Linked DNA regions of Homo sapiens: region 1 is linked to region 2. The links are contacts of gene promoters, found by promoter capture Hi-C in human tissues and cell types (Jung and others, 2019). All regions are on one chromosome and are shown on one strand. Each heading gives the region's core, a stretch centred on a gene start or on the middle of the fragment in contact. The rest is flanking DNA. Distances are from core to core; before and after follow the strand shown. Region 1 overlaps TUT4 (terminal uridylyl transferase 4). Region 2 holds the start of ZFYVE9 (zinc finger FYVE-type containing 9).

Region 1 (5,559 bases), core at 2,350-4,849, 390 kb before region 2:
TGTAGGTCACCCCTTTATATTCACTGATACTTTGGTGTAATTCCTGACATCCATATTGGGCAGTGGGAAGCATAACATTGAATGTTATCTGACACTTTATTTCCTTAATTTCTATCTTCTAGTGATATTCAACTCTACTTTCCTTGATAGCTCCTATTCATATCATTCAAAATGATTCTTCCCACCAAAATTTTCTGAATTATCTGTATATGTATTTTTAATGTTTCTTTAGTTTTTTTAATCTATCCCTAATTTCACTGTAAAGCCTCTTTTTGGCTTTATCCTTTCCCTTCATCGGCATGATTACTGTTGTGTTCCTTACCCTATTGAAATAGTGATTCTGTAACTTCGCAACCCAGTACAAATTATCTCCAAATTGTATAACTAGTGGTGGTTCACATCTGTAATTCCGGGATTCCTTTGGGAGGCTGAGGTGGGAGAATTGTCTTGGTGCCCTAAAGTGTTGGGATTACAGGTGTAAGCCACTTTACCTGGCTTCAACACTCTCTTTAACTTGGTGGTAAGTAAGGCAGGAATGAAAGGAAAAGGAGATATGAATTGCACTATCTTTCCCTTTCCTTCTGCATCATCATTTTTAGAATAAATGTTTAATTCAGGGAAGTAATATTAGTAAGGAAAGATATGATAGGATTCTTTGATCATTCATGTTTTTTTAATCTTCTTTTTCATTTTTCTTTTTTTTTTTTCTTTTCTTTTCTTTTTTTTTTTTTAGACAGAGTCTTGCTCTGTTGCCTAGGCTGGAGTGCAGTGGCATGATTGCAGCTCACTGTAGCCTTCACCTCCCAAGTGCAAGTGATCCTCCCACTTCAGCCTCCTGAGACTGGGACTACAGGTGCCTGGCTAATTTTTTATATTTTGTAGAGATGGAGTCTCCTGTGTTGCCTAGGCTGGTCTAAAACTCCTGGACTCAAGCGGTCCTCCCAGCTTGTCCTCCAAAAGTGCTGTGATTACAGGCATGAACCACCGCACCCAGCTCCCTTTTTTTTTCTCAGTTGCCAAAACAAGAGCATTTATTTGTCTTTCATGTTACATGCCCATTGGGGATAGAATGTATATTCTGCTGATGTTGGATAGAGTCTTTATATATCTGTTAGGTCTAATTATTTTATTTTATTTTTTTGAGATGGAGTCTTGCTCTTTCGCTCAGGTTGGAGTGCAGCGATGCAGTCTTGGCTCACTGCAACCTCCACCTCCTGGATTCAAGCGGTTCTTGTGCCTCAGCTTCCCAAGCAGCTGGGACTATGGGTGTGGGCCACCACACCCGGCTAATTTTTGTATTTTTAGTAGAGACGGGGTTTCACCATGTTGCCCAGGCTTTTCTTGAACTCCTGACCTCAAGTGATCTGCCCCCTTTGGTCTCCCAAAGTGCTGAGATTATAGGCATGAGCCGCCATGCCCAGCCAGTCTAATTAGTTTGTTTGTTTATTTATTTATTTATTCATTTTTGAGACAGTTTTGCTCTTGTTGCCCAGACTGGAGTGCAGTGGCCCGATCTCAGCTCACAGCAAACTGCCTTCTCGGTTCAAGCGATCTTCCTGCTTCAGCCTCCTGAGTAGCTGGGATTACAGGCACGCGCCACCATGCCTGGCTAATTTTTGTATTTTTAGTAGAGATGGGATTTCGCCATGTTGGCCAGGCTGGTCTTGAGTTCCTGACCTCAGGTGATCCACCTGCCCTGGCCTCTCGAAGTGCTGAGATTACAGGCATGAGCCACCGCGCTGAGCCAGTCAAATTAGTTTATAGTGTTACACAAATCCTCTGTTTCCTTTTTGATTTTCTGTCTGGTTGTTCTGTTATTGAAAAGTGGGGTATTGAAGTCTCCTAAGTATGATTATAGAACAATTTCTCTTTTCAATTGTGTTAACTTTTGTTTCCTGTATTTTAGGTCACTGTTGTTAGGTGCATATGTTTATAACTGTTATATGTCCTTGCTGGATTGAACCTTTTATCAATATATAATATCTATCTTTGTGTTTTGTAACCTTTTTTGACTTAAAGTGTTATTTTATCTGGTAATAATTTAGCCCCAGCTCTCTCTTTGTTACTCTTTGCATGGAGTATCTGTTTTCATTTTTTCTTATAACGCCTTTGCTCTTTGTATCTAAAGTGAATCTTGTAGATAGATGATAGATTGTGTTTTCCAATTTGCCAATCTCTCTCTTTTTTTTAATTTTTATTTATTTATTTATTTTGAGATGGAGTTTCACTATTATTGCCCAGGCTGCTGGAGTGCAGTGGCACAATCTCGGCCCACTGCAACCTCCGCCTCCTGGGTTCAAGCGATTATCCTGCCTCAGCCTCCCAAGTAGCTGGGACTATGGGCGCACGCCACCATGCCCGGCTAATTTTTTGTTAGTAGAGACGGGGTTTCACCGTGTTAGCCAGGGTGGTCTCGATCTCCTGACCTCATGATCCGCCTGCCTTGGCCTCCCAAAGTGTTGGGATTACAGGCGTGAGCCACCGCGCCCGGCCTATTTTTTAAAATTTAATTTAATGTTACTTTTTTGAGACGAAACTCTTGTTGCCCAGGCTGGAGTGCAGTGGCACAGTCTCGGCTCACTGCAACCTCCACCTCCTGGGTTCAAGTGATTCTCCTGCCTCAGCCTCCCAAGTAGCTGGGATTACAAGCACCCACCACCACGCCCTCTTATTTTTTCGTATTTTTAGTAGAGACAGGGTTTCACCATGTTCTCCAGGCTGGTTGTGAACTCCTGATCTCAGGTAATCCACCTACCTCGGCCTCCCAAAGTGCTGGGATTACAGGCGTGAGCCACCACGCCTGGCCAATCTCTCTTTTTAATTGGAAAGTTTAATTCATTTACATTTAAAGTAATTACTGGTAAGGATGGATTTACTTCTGCCATTTAGCTCTTTCTTTTCCATATGTTTTTTATGCCTTTTGTTCCTCTAATGCTGCCTTTTTATGTATTTAGTTGATTTTTTATAGAATTATAATCCTGTTTTGATTTTGTGTGTGTGTGTTACTTTCTTAGTGGATGCCTTGGGGATAATGATGTAATTAACATCTTAAATTTATAACAACCTAGTTTGAATAATGCCAGCTTAGTTTAAATAGTACGCAAATACTCTGCTCCTACTCATCTTTCTCTCCTCCTTTATATTTTTATTGTCACAGATTACATCTTTATATAGTTTGTGCCTATTAACAGAGGTTTGTAATGAATTTTTATGCATTTGTCTTTTAAATCATGTAAAAGGGAAAAACCCAAGAGTTACCAAAATTACAATAACATTGGCTTTTATATTTACCTATGTAGTTATTTTTACTAGTGTTCTTTATTTCTTGTTATGGATTTGAATTATTGTCTAATGTCTTTTCATCTCAGCATTAAGAATTTCTTTTAGCACTTGTACGGCAGAATGAACTTTCTCACTTTTTGTTTATCTGGAAATATAATTTCTCCTTCATTCTTGAAAGGCGGTTTTACTGGCTAGAGAATTCTTAGTTCACAGCTTTTTTCTTTTAGGACTTCAAATATGTCACTGCATTGCCTTCTCATTTCCATGGTTTCTTATGGGCAATCAGCTGTTAACTTTTGTTTGATGAGTTAAATTTTCTTGCTTCTTTCAAAGTTCTCTTTGGTTTTGACAATTTGACTCTGTCTCAGTGTGGATTTCTTTGAGTTTACGCTGCTTAAAGTTTATTGAGCTTTGTGGAGGTATATACTTGTGTCTTTCATCAGATTGGGGAAGTTTCTGACCATTGTTTCTTCAAATATTTTTTCTACACCCTTCTCTTTCTTCTTTCTGTGACTCCTATTATGCATATGTTGGTACGCTTGGTAGAGAAGAAAATGAACAGTATTGCCCAGGGAACAAAATGCCAGAGAACAAAAAATACAGAGGGCAGAAAAAAGTTTGAGAAAGAATTTTAGTGTTCTGAATATTAGTGGTCTTTAGAAATATGAGATTATAACTATGAAACAAGATCAGAGTGCTGTGAAAAGGAATAATTAGAGAGAGTTCTTAGAAATAAAAATATGATAGAAGAGTTGGAAGATAGAGTTGAGGAAATCACCTAGGAAGGAGAACAAAAAGAAAGGTGGAAAAATGGAGAGAAAAGATAAGAAAATTGGAGAATCAATTTAGGAGGCCCAAGTCTAATTAATAGGAGCAATAGAAAGAGAACAGAAAAGATGAAAAGGAGGAATTTATAGTAGATAGAAGAAAAAAATTTTACAGAAGTGAATGATGTGAATTACTGATGAACAGAGCCAGCTGACTATGCAACAAGATGACTATGCAACAAGATGAATGAGGAGATATCTACAGCAGGCTTATTGCTTGGAAATTTCAGAATACCAAAGCAAAGAGATCATCCTAGAAGTTTTCTTAGAGAAAAAAACAGGTCAGTAAAAAAGGTAAAGAATAAGAATGGCATAATTTTCTCAGTGCTAGTCCCAGAAACTAGAAATCATTGAAAACATTTTGAATGAATAATTTCTAACCTAGAATTTTATTTTATTTTTTTGGGGACGGGGTGTTGCACTGTCGCCCAGCCTGGGGTTCAGTGGTGCCATCACGGCTCACTGCAGCCTTGACCTCCTGGGCTCAAGTGATTCTTCCACCTCAGCCTCCCAAGTAGCTGGGACCACAGGCATGCGCCACCACATTTGGCTGATTTTTGTTTGTTTTTTTTTTTTTTGTAGAGACAGGGTTTTGCCATGTTGCCTGAGCTGGCTTTGAACTTCTGAACTCAAATGATCCTCCCGCCTCAATCTACCAAAGTGCTGGGATTGCAGGCATGAAGCACCGTGCCTGGCCCTAACCTAGAATTTTATACCTAACTAAATGAGGTGTGAAGATACAATAAAGATATTTCAAATATGCAGTTTTATAAAATTTACTTCTGGTTGGAGTTTACGGGGGTCCAATAAATAGCACCCCTTTTGCTTTCCTGAATTTTCAACAAATTGGGTGAAACGAAGGAAGCATATGGAGACCAGAAGATAATTTTATTTTTATTTAGTTTTTATAATTTTATTTTTGATCACGTTCAGTTTGGAGAAGGCGGCTTATACTTTCAACTGGTTTACTGATACCGAGTGCCAGAATTAGGCAGACTTAGCCCTCAGGAACTGGCAGAGCTGAACAACTGCAGGCCCTATGTGAGCCTTACACCTGTAAATGTTAGAGTATGATGGAACAGAATGGGAAGGAGAGGGGACGGGGCTAAGTTTTGTCTGGATTATTTTCCCAAACTCACTGATGAAGTAAGTTACCTCTTCTCCTTAGGCAAGGAATGAATGAGGGGAGTGGAAAGAGGTCAGGGATGTTATGATAACGGGTATCCGTCTACATAGAATGAAATATCGAAAGTGGGACATAATTATTTTCTTCAATATCTTTCATGTTTTCTTCCTTTTTTTGAGACTGAGTCGCACACTGTTGCACAAGTTGGAGTGCAGTGGTGCAATCTCAGCTCACTGCAATCTCCGCCTCCCAGGTTCAAACGATTTTTGTGCCTCATTCTCCCCAGTAGCTGGGATTACAGGTGTGTGCTACCACACCTGGCTA
Region 2 (5,284 bases), core at 220-2,719:
TTTCTCCTATTATTAAATATTTATTAAGAGCCAACATGGTACCTTTCTATAATTCCCAAGTTTTCTACAATAAGCATATTTTTTCATGATTATAAAAGTTTTGCAAGTACCTATAAGTCTTATAACTTTCACATACATAACAGGAAAACAAGAATAACCTGTAATCACATTTCTCACAAAACATAAATATCTGACTTACGGTATCAAACTGTAATCAGTAGCATTTTCAACATTAATATCAGAACAAATCATTTTATTTCTAAAATTTAGCATGTATCCCATTTCCTTCAGGTATTTATTAGGGTAGCTGGCACTTAAAGAGGACTTAAAATCCTTTTGCCAACTATTCTCTGGATCTCTTTAAGTGGAACATTTTTGTACCGAACACTGAAGCATAAAAATATTTCTTCTGGCGGGGTGTGGGGGGCAGACCTTTGTAAAAGACGTTTTTATAACTGTGAGTGTTTATCTACAAAACTTAGCATCGCAAAGATGCGATGGGGCTTTCTCCAAGGCAGACCACGCTTAGAGGCAAGATATAATATAAAGAGGCAGGAATGAGCAACCGGCAGGTGATGAAATTTCACCTCAAATAAGACGCAAAAGGTTGTTCTCGAGCAAGCCAGATCCATGAATGACACTCCAGGAGTAGCAGGGGCTCTCTTGGTCCCGCACTCTCTGCACCCCCAATTCTCACCCTGGCCTTCCTCTCCTCCCCCTTTCCCCGCCACAACCGGGATTCTGAGGGACTCGGTATGGGACGCGTGGAAGCCAAAGCTTGTTTGCAAACAGGCGTCATCTGCCTCCCTCCGGGATGTACGTGCAGGGCCCGGGCTAAGAGGCTGCGCTCGGCCCGGGCCCATGCAAACCCGAAAGGCGGCCGTGCTCCTGCCGGCCCCCAGCTCCACACACCCGGCCGCGCCGGAACCGAGGCCGGAGCGAGGGCTTCCCAACGGCGCGGGGCCTAATCGCCCCCCACGGCCTTCAGCCTCCCGGGGGACGCGGGGAGAAAGGGCTGAGGCCCCAGGACCGCAGGGTGGGGGAGGCGACCGCAGTGGCAGGACGCCCCGTCCGCCCGGCCCGCGGTCTGCCGCCAGGGCCCCCACAGGCGGCGGGAGGCCGGCGAGCCCCGGACCACGCCGCGCCACACTCACCTCGAGCAGCGGCCGCCTCCGCTTCAGCATGGCCACGGGGGTCGTCCCTGAGCCGAAAGCCTCCTCCGGAGGGCACCGGCGCGGCCCCAGGCGCCGCCGCGAAACCTCCCACTCCTGTAGGAGCTGCGGTAGCCGCAGCTGCGGCTGCTACTGCTGCTAAGGCCCGGCACCCGCCCAGCCGCATCGGCGCCCGGGCCGCGGCAGCCACGCGGATCCCGGAGGAGCGCCGCCGAGCCGGGCCGGGGGCGCAAGGCTGCGGCGGGACGACCGAGGTGCGGCAGGCGGGGATCCTCAGCGAAGCCTCCAGCGTCGGGTGGCCGCTCCTGCCGCCGGCGCCGCTGGGCCACAGCGCCCCCTGGACCCCACGTCCGGCTACGGCGTCGGGACTGCGGCGGCCGCGCTGGGCACGAGCCGCAGGGAACGCTAAGGAGCGCGGCCTGGGGGCGGCGAGGGCCCCGTGCTCCCTGCGTAGCCCGCGGCCCGCGGCCGGCCCGGGACTCCGCTTCCCGGGAACCGGAAGCCCCTCAGTTCCCACCAACCCCTGGCGTTCCCCGCCCCCGCCAGACCCGAGCACCTTTTCGTTCTCTCCCGAAGATACGTGAACGTTCTTGTCACTCGGACCCGCACCTGAGAGCAGGAATATAAGGGAATCTCCGTTTGACTCTCACGGTTTCGGGGGTGGCAGGGAGACCCCCTTCTAATTCCTTTAATGCGTCTGGATGAAAGAAGAGTGACCCAGAACAAACCTTTTTTTCAAACATACACACTCGTCTCCCAAAACAGACGAAGGAATTGTCTTTGACCTTAACTTGTTTTTTTATCTACTGTGTAGATCATTAAGAAATTTTCTACAGATATCAACCAAACCCTTAACACCTAAACCACCACCCCCACAAAACAAAAATGAAAAAAAAATACATACATATATATATATGCCAAGCCAGAGAAGAGAATAGCCAACGGGTTGTCCTGAAATTCATAAACAACTTAAAGGTAAGCAAAGAATCACCCATCTTTTACTAACATCCTCTCCCTCCCAACCTCTTCTCTCCCACCTTTCCACCCCTCATCCCAGGCAAATCCTAGTAAGGCTCTGAAGGAAGGAAATTATTACACAGTGGGGGCTATGGAATCATTCTGTTTACAGATGCCCCATATTTGATCCCAGTCAGCCTCTAGGGTGCAAACATCAGAACCAAAAACAAACACGACTGTCAGAGGGGAAGTAGGGAAAGAAAATTCTCCAAATCCTCTGATCCCTAAATTTTCCAAATACACTTTTTTAACAGAGTGGTATACTAGAATGTGTAGTGATTTTGGTGTCAGACACATACCAACACTACCAGTTCCAGTTCTGTCATGTATATATAGCTTTATGACCCTGGGGAAGTTATGTAACATTTTTGAACTTCAGTTTTCTCCTGCCTGCCTTGCTGGTTGTTGAAGATTGGAGATAAAGAGACTGGCCCATAGAAGATACTTAATAAATGTTAGTTACAATTTTTATTGGTTCCAGTTCTTTTTCTTAGGCTCAATTTTGTACTCCTCTGTTTTTGTTTCTCATTCTCTCTCTCTCTCTCTCTCTCTCTGTGTGTGTGTATGTGTGTGTGTATGTGTGTGTGTAACTGTATTTCTGTCAAAAGATAGATGCTCCATTCTTCATCCTCCCTAGTCTGGGTGAAATTTCCCTAAATTTCACTAATGGGTTTATGTAACACCCCTCCATGGAAGAATAGAGCCTCATACACTGGATCCTATGACATTCTGTTGCACAGCAGATAGCAGCATGCAACCAGTATTTTTTATGTATAAAAAATGTTATAAGGCAATCTCACCTTACCTTAGGTTATGGCCTAATGATGATAAATAATAGAAACTACAAAAGGTCTCCAGGAATCATTCATTTAATAATTGAGCAGCCACCATGGAGAAGATGTCACCTAGTAGCTCTCTTAATGAAAGCTGTTCCTGCATAATCCTAAGTGTGCCTTTGCCACATACTCCTGAGTCACAAAAAAATCACTATGCCCTTTCTATAACAAGAGAAACTGGGGCTCAAAGGGAAACCATGATTCATCCTCGCAGTGATTCTATGAGTTAGGTCCTATGCTACCATTTTACATGTGAAATATATCCAACCTAAGGAAGAGCTGGAAGTAGACCCTGAGATTCCCTTCAGTCCCCAACCTGATGCCCCAACAGTCCTTTCAACAATATTAACAAAATGCTGTAAGGGTCATTTGTTGCTAAAAAATGTTTAGTCAAGGGAAAAGGGCCCTTCAACTGATTGAGATCATTAGCGCTGTAACCTAATATTAGCACTGTATTTTTCATGCCTAGATCACTGCCACCACAGGAAACCTGCATTTGTTTATGAATAATCATGCAACCCAGGGCATAGCTACTACATGAAGAAGATGATTCATTTGTTCCCAAGACCAGTTTCCTCTTGCTTCACACTTTCTCTCCTTGTTGCTGAAAGCAGCTGCCTTTATCATCACAACCTCCCCGCTGATCGGAGTAGTCCACTTTAAATCATTTCATCCTCTTCAATTTCATTCCATCGTTTTCAGTTTGCCCTCTGCTTCTAAAATGTCTCTCACCTGTTTTCCTCTCTTGTACTGTAAATCTCTTGTTCATTTTAATCTCCCTTGGGCTTCTGTCAATTGATTTGGCTACCCTCATCTCAATTTTTCATTGATTTCCCCTATTAGCTAGCAACCGTAAAATGTCTATTCCCAACCTGGTAGACCTCCCCACTTTCATTTTTATACTGTCTACATCCTGTAGAAAGCCAATATTCTAAGAATCTTTTTTCAACTGAGTTTAAGCACTAGCACCCCAAGCAAAATATTCTTTGCTCTTTAAAATTAGTTTTTAAAATTCAGGCCAAAAAGATACCCGTTTCCTGACTTGGCGAATGGCACCATCATCCACCCAGATGCCCAAGCCAAAAATCTTGGATTCATTCTTAACTCTTGTGTCTTTCTCCTGGGCAAGTAGTTACAAAGCCTGATAAATTTTACTTTTTTGCTTTTTAAATTTCTCTTCTCCTGTCCAACTCCACTGCCACTCACTTTGGTCTAGGATATATGCTCAATAAATTATAAGTGAACTGAATGAAAAAAAGGAAGAATTGATGAATGCATATTCTATTTGGATATAAGAGTAAATACTGGCCGGGTGCAGTGGCTCATGCCTGTAATCCCAGCACTTTGGGAGGATGAGGCATGTGGATCACCTGAGGTCAGGAGTTCAAGATCAGTCTGGCCAACGTGGTGAAACCCTGTCTCTACAAAAATACAAAAATTAGCCAGGCATGATGGCGAGTGCCTGTAATCCCAGCTTCTTGGGAGGCTGGGGCAGGAGAATCGCTTCAACGCCAGAGGCAGAGGTTGCAGTGAGCCAAGATCGCACCATTACACTCCAGCCTGGGCAACAGAGCAAGACTCAGTTTCAAAAAAAAAAAAAACAAGTAAATACTGTATAAAAGTTTGTTTAAAGGAAGACACAAAACCCCTTCCATGCTCCTATTAATCCTTGTGCTTCCCAATTTGTAACTACTCATCACTCTACAGTCAGTATCTATTTACTTATATGTCTCCCCTACCAAATTGTAAGCCCCTGTTTGACAGGTTCAGTGTTTGATTCATATCTGTGTCCCTAGAACCAGTCTCAGCACAAAGTACACCCCAGAGGATGTTAAGCTGAACTGAACTTCCCTCATCAGACTGTAGATAGCCTGCATCCCACATGCTCAGTGACTTTTTAGAACTTTTCCTTTAAATTTCAGGGCCCACAAAAAATAAGACTCCCGGCCGGGCACGGTGGCTCACACCTGTAATCCTAGCACTTTGGGAGGCCGAGGTGGGCAGCCCACGAGGTCAGGAGATCAAGACCATCCTGGCCAACATGGTGAAACCCTGTCTCTACTAAAAATACAAAAATTAGCCAGGCATGGTGGTGTGTGTCCGTGATCCCAGCTACTCAGGAGGCTGAGGCAGGAGAATCACTTGAACCCAGGAGGCGGAGGTTGCAGTGAGCTGAGACTGTGCCACTGCACTCCAGACTGGGCGACAGAGCGAAACTCCGTCTCAAAAAGAAAAAAAAAATTACCAGGCATGGTGGCA

The links. The method cuts DNA at HindIII sites, captures the fragments that hold promoters and counts their contacts. A contact is called where the count stands out against the background at its distance.
Region 1: a fragment that was not itself captured here is called in contact with the fragment with the promoter of ZFYVE9 in region 2 in 1 of the 25 tissues and cell types used here (stomach).

What each region holds. Positions count from the first base shown.
Region 1 is chr1:52,533,818-52,539,376 of GRCh38, reverse strand. The region is part of intron 1 of TUT4 (terminal uridylyl transferase 4); the gene reads left to right. All of the region lies in intron 1 of LOC105378723 (a long non-coding RNA gene), which reads right to left. Among named protein-coding and RNA genes, the nearest start is that of TUT4, 16 kb to the left of the region's middle. The HindIII fragment of the contact is 6,450 bases long and covers 375-5,559 here.
Region 2 is chr1:52,138,274-52,143,557 of GRCh38, reverse strand. ZFYVE9 (zinc finger FYVE-type containing 9) reads right to left here and starts at 1,469. Exons shown (of 19, transcript NM_004799.4): 1 at 1,155-1,469. It overlaps LOC107984956 (collagen alpha-2(I) chain-like), which reads right to left and starts at 3,839. Exons shown (of 5, transcript XM_047439476.1): 1 at 3,758-3,839; 2 at 2,269-2,365; 3 at 2,077-2,123; 4 at 1,155-1,781. The coding sequence starts at 3,839. RefSeq lists a silencer at 810-1,669. The HindIII fragment of the contact is 20,668 bases long and covers 1-5,284 here.